Regions from separate parts of the Homo sapiens genome. Here region 2 is linked to region 1. The links are contacts of gene promoters, found by promoter capture Hi-C in human tissues and cell types (Jung and others, 2019). All regions are on one chromosome and are shown on one strand. The core of a region is centred on a gene start or on the middle of the fragment in contact, and the rest is flanking DNA. Distances in the headings are between cores, read along the strand shown.

Region 1 (2,807 bases), core at 90-2,589:
GCAAAAGGGAAGTTGAGGGCTTTCCCTAATAGAAAAAGAAAGACTCAGAACCTGGACGTTCAGGCGTGTGACCTCAGACCAGTGATCTGGCATCTCTGAACCGCACAGGTCTGAGTGATTGGGCTTATATCAAGTAGTAGTTCCCTGATGTTGTAATGCTTATAATTTTGCCAAAGCTGGCTTGCCCATTTAAAATGGGCTATTCTGAAGACAGAGGAGGGAGTGGAATATTTTCAACAGAGAGTGCCGGCAAAGGTTTTGTGTCCTTTATATACAAAGAACCCTTAGATATCAATTGGAAAAAGATAAACATGCCCCCAGAGGAGAAAAAAATGGGAACAGACTTGAACAGGAGAGTCAGACTAGAAATGTGAAAAATAAGTTTATAAAAGAGAATCAACACTAACAAAGAAATGAAATGCCTATTGAAGCATCTAGATATTATTCTCGACTTCACATCAGGGAAAGTTTAAGGGATGGGTAGCAACAAGGTGGGTTTAGTATGTGAGAATACTGTGCCCTGGTATAACATCGTAGAGAGGTCAAGCTGCCACGGCCTTCCAGGGTGCAGTGTGACCAAAAGCTCAGAAGTCTTAAAAATAGGCAAACCTTAAATCTAGCAATTTCTAAAAGGTATTCATAAGACACACACACAAAGATGTCATACTAAATATTCATTGCAGCACTGTTCTAATAAAAAAAAAGAAGCAAATCTATTATGGAAAAGTCAAATAATCTTAAGATAGCCTTTCTATGCAGCCATGAAAAATGTATATTGGAAGAATATAGGTGATATGGAAAAAAGTTCACAATCTGTGGTTAAGCAGGTTACCAAACTAGATGTGGAAATCCACATTCATATATTTAGTTGTGTATCCTTGCTATTTCTTTAAACAATGAACATGCATTACTTTTGACATCTGAAAATAATAACAAAACTCTTCCTTTTAACAAATATGAAATTATAAAAAGAAACAAACTTTTCTCTCTGTTAGTATTCATTCCCCTTCCCTGGCCCCCCTCAGAAGACACCCAAGGCAAGTGTGTGATGATACCTTCCCTCTGGTCTCTGCCCGGAAGGTCTTCCTGAGGGTTCCCTGTGACTGCAGGCCACTCGAGGCTGTTGGGGAGACTTGCACACCCTGGCTTCTTTCTGCCAATCACAGGCTCCTCTGGCTGTGGCTGTTTGCCCAGAAAGCAGTTCATTCATTTGTTCATTCAAGATCCCCCTCTGAACCCCCAGAGCGCCGCAGCTGGAACACCCCTATCACCCGGAGGCTTCCCAGGGAGCCTGCTCTGTCCTGAGCTCCCTGCTGGCCGCCGGGGCTGCTTCCCTGAATGGGACTGGGACAGAACTCAGCCAGAGAAACAGCTGGAGGGAGGAGAGCAGGAGGGAGGGGCAGGAAACTGGGCTGACCTAGGGCGGGGGCGGCTAGCTGCGTGGAGAGGGGGCTGCGAGGGGAGGGTGCCCCTACCAGCCGGGGACTGGGCTTGTGGGTGGCGGCGGGGGCCCGCTGGGGACGACCCGCCCCTCTGGCAGCCTCTTGCAGCCGGGGAGCCGTGCCCACTGAGCGCAAACAGGGAGCACATCTGAGCACCCGGCTGCTGGGGGAAGTGCAAGCGCCTCTGCTCCCGGTGAGGGGCTCAAGCTCCACACTGACCGAGAGATTGGCTGCCTCTCACCCTGGGCCTTTGCAACGCTGTTCCTCCCACCTGGATGCTATTCCTGCCCTAATTCGTGGCCCGATGGTCTCCTACTGCCTCTTCAGGTCTCAGGTTGAAGGTCACCTCCCAGGGAAGCCTTCCCCAACCCTCGGGGGCTGCTGTGCCCCTCAGGGTCACCCCATCACCTCACTGATGCAGTGCTGTCCTTGCCTGTTAAGATGTCTCTCTCCTTGCACCGAGAACTCCTTGCACCAGGAACTCTGTAGGGAAAGAACTGTATTCTGTTCCCTGCCCTAACCAGGCGCTAAGTGCCTGGTTCATCGGCTGTGTGGTCACCATCATTAGTGGAATAATCAAAACAACCGACAGCCAGGCAGCGTGCTAGGCGATGCGTACTTACTCTTCACGGCAACCCTAGATAACAGGAATTATTACTACTCCAGTCTTACCAATAAGGAAACTGGGGTACAGAGAGATTAAGTCACTTGCTCAAGACCACACCGCCAGCAGCTGACAGAGCTGGGATTCCAACTATGTTGTCTGGCTCGGAGGCCCACCCTTGGCCTCCAGACTGAAGAAATAACAGAAGTGCCCATGTGGGCCCCTGTGCCAAGTGCTTCCATGGAGTAAGCCGTGTGAACCACCACCCACGTCGGGGGGGCATCACTTGCCCATTCTACACATGAGGATGCTAGGGCCACAGAGCAGAAGTCGTTTTGCCCAGGGCGCCAAGCTCATGCTGACCGAGCCATGGCTGGATCTGAGTCTGTCTGATTCCAAAGCCAAGACTGCCTACGACTGCCTAAAATAATATTTTTAGAAAGAAAAAGAAAAGGGAAGGGCAGGGGAGGGGAAGAGAGGGGAAGGGAGGAGAAGAAAGAAAGGAAGAAAAGGGAGGGCAGGGAGGAAGGTAATGGGGAGGAGGGGAAGGTGAAGGGAGAGGGAGATGGGGAGGGAGGGAGAGAAGGAGAGAAACCTGTGTTTTGGGCCTCAAAGTCTTGGGCAGGTGGAGGACTATGTCCTCATCGTCTGATCAGCCTTAGAACCCCACCGACCTCTCCCCACCATCCTCAATCCTTTAATTCAGTGAGCTTTACACTTAGAAACCATCTAATTTCATTCTTCCATTTCACAGATAACTT
Region 2 (2,807 bases), core at 117-2,616, 160 kb after region 1:
AGGGGACGAGGAGGGACGAGCAGGGGGTTTTCAGGGGTTATCAGGCCAAATAACCAAGATGGGGAGCCTGGGCTGCCAAGTGGGCTATTACTTGTATTTTAGGGGGACACAGCCCCAAGGACAACACTGGGAAAGAGAGTGCCACCTTTTCTTCCAGTCACAGGGAAGACAACTGAACTATCCTCATGCTGCAGGCCAAAGAGATGCCTCCCATTTTCTGAACCTCTCACCTGGGAAGTAACCCATATTTTATTTAATCCTAGACCCAGATGTGCCAGAAATGATCAGAATTCCCAAGTGTCAGAGCTCCCTCCAAAGCCACCCCTTGCAGCATCTCAACCCTCTCCCAAAAATGGTTATCTGACCTGGAGCTGAGGACCCAGAGAGAGCTTGAGGGTCCCACTCTTCCTCCTCTGGCAGAGCCCACCGCAGGAGTGAGCCGTGGCTGGGCAGGGTGGGGCGGTAGACTCAGAGGTCTTTGCTCTGGGATCTGCAGAACATTTAGGGAGGCATCAGCTGCTGCTCCGCTTCCAAATAAAGCCCAGGTGCTTTTTCAAGCCTCTCTGAACCAGCACTTCTCAAACTTCATGTCAGCATTTCTTGAAGAGTTCCCAGGCCACAGATTCCTTGGGGTAGAAGAGAGGTAGAGGGAGAGACACTCATTTGGAACACCTTTTTGTATACCTCTGACTCCTAGAGTTATGGAAATATTTCACATGCCCAGAAAATCAATCAATAAATAATTAAAATCAACCAAGATGTGGGGGCTTCCCAAAGCGTGGTCTGTGGACCAGCAACTTCATTGGCCTCACCTGGGAGCTCGAACCCCTGGCCTTCATTTAAATTAATTAAATTTAGCCAGGCGTGGTGGTACACACCTATAGTCCTAGCTACTCAGGAGGCTGAGGCATGAGAATCACTGGAACCTGGGAGGCAGAGATTGCAGTGAGCTGTGATCGCACCACTGGGTGATCCAGCCTGGGCAACAGAGTGGGACTCTGCCTCAAAAAAAAAGAGCAAGAACTTTTTCTTTTGAAAAATTTAGACTCAAAAATTGAATACCTGGAGTTTTTCTGTGTCCTTTACCCAACGTTCCCTAATGTTGATATCTTGCATAACAACACAACAACTATCTAAACCAAGAAATGAACATTGGTGAATCTGTGGACATTCAAATTTCATCAGTTTTTTCCATTAATGAACACTTAATAAAAAAAACTAAATTTTTTTGACCATTTGCTGGTCCAGGATCCAATCCAGGATTCCACATTGCATGTAACTCTCCTACAGGACCATAATACAACCATCAAAATCAAGCAACGAACACTGATCTACTACCATGTTCTCCCCAGACCCCATTTAAGTTTCACCAATTGTTTTAATAAAGTTCTCTCTAGTAAAAGAATACAATTCAGAATCAGCCAAATACTTCATTGTCATATTTCCTCAGTGTCGTCCAATATGTAATAGTTTTGTCTTTTATGATCTCGATAACTTTTGAAAAGTACTGGCCTTTATTTTCTAGAATTTCATTCAACTTGAATTTGTCTGATGTTTTCTCATATTTAGCTTGAGTCACTGCACACCCAACATCAGAGACCAGTAAGCCACCAGCTGCCACGTGTTGAGCTGTATGTGTAGCAAAATCAGTTGTTTGCTGCCAAACCTATTTATGCCAGTTTCATTTGTAACTAGTTAAGTAGTATGTAGTAGGATTAAATAGGAGGGAAAGGCCAGGCACAGTGGCTCATGCCTGTAATCCCAGCACTGTGAGAGGCCAAGGTGGGAGGATCGCTTGAGCTCAGGAGTTTGAGACCAGCCTGGGCAACATGGTGAAACACTATCTCTACAAAAAATGCAAAAATTAGCCAGCATGGTGGTTCATGCCTGTGGTCCCAGGTTATCAGGAGGATGGCTGGAGCTCTAGAGGTCAAGGCTACAGTGAGCTGTGATTGCACCACTGCACTCCAGCCTGAGCAACAGAGTGAGACCCTGTCTAAAAAAAAGAAGGGAAAAAGAAAAGTTGTTTCTGTGAAAACTAAGTTAAGTGTTTCGAATAGCCCTGAGAAAAGCAAGCTTCTAAATAGAAATTGATGAAGAATTAGTTGTAAGATAAAGATGGAGGGGGAGGAAAATTATAAAAATCTGGAAGGGTTCTGTATGCTGCTTAGCCAGTGTCTTTAAATTCTCATTAAATTCAAAATGAACCAAAAAAGGAAATCACCTGATTCATGCAGGGAAGACAATGTGAGACTTCACCCAATTAACTCATTTGTTAATCAACCATTAACCCAATATTAATATTAGTATTCACAGTACAAATTAGTATACAGAATACTAGTATGTGTAAGTTAAAAGATAAGATAAAATATTCATAATGTAAGGTTTTCTGTTTCTCTATCCTAACCCACTTTTTCAACTAAGCCTCAACACCAGTCAATGGTCAAATGATATTAGGCTGACCTCTCAGCTACACACAAGAACATATTAAAATGGAGCACTGACCAGGCGCAATGGTTCACACCTGTAATCCCAGCATATTGGGAGGCCAAAGCAGGTGGATTGCTTGAGTTCAGGAGTATGAGACCAGCCTGGGCAACATGGCAAAACATCATCCCTATAAAAAAAAAAATACAAAAATTAGCCAGGCATGGTGATGCGTGCCTGTGGTCCCAGCTACTCAGGAAGCTGAGGTGGGAGGATTGCTGGAGCCCAGTGGGTAGAGGCTGCAGTGAGCTGAGATCACACTACTGCACTCCAGCCTGGGCAACAGAGTGAGACCTTGTCTCAAAAGAAAAAAAAAAAGT

The links. Contacts are between HindIII fragments. The study calls those that stand out against the background at their distance.
Region 2: a fragment that was not itself captured here is called in contact with the fragment with the promoter of CMKLR1 in region 1 in 1 of the 25 tissues and cell types used here (H1 embryonic stem cells).

What each region holds. Positions count from the first base shown.
Region 1 is chr12:108,337,972-108,340,778 of GRCh38, forward strand. It overlaps CMKLR1 (chemerin chemokine-like receptor 1), which reads right to left and starts at 1,340. Exons shown (of 4, transcript NM_001142343.2): 1 at 1,056-1,340. RefSeq lists an enhancer at 773-1,396 and a silencer at 1,504-1,623. The HindIII fragment of the contact is 8,294 bases long and covers 1-2,807 here.
Region 2 is chr12:108,500,042-108,502,848 of GRCh38, forward strand. No RefSeq gene overlaps it. Among named protein-coding and RNA genes, the nearest start is that of FICD, 14 kb to the right of the region's middle. The HindIII fragment of the contact is 6,085 bases long and covers 1-2,807 here.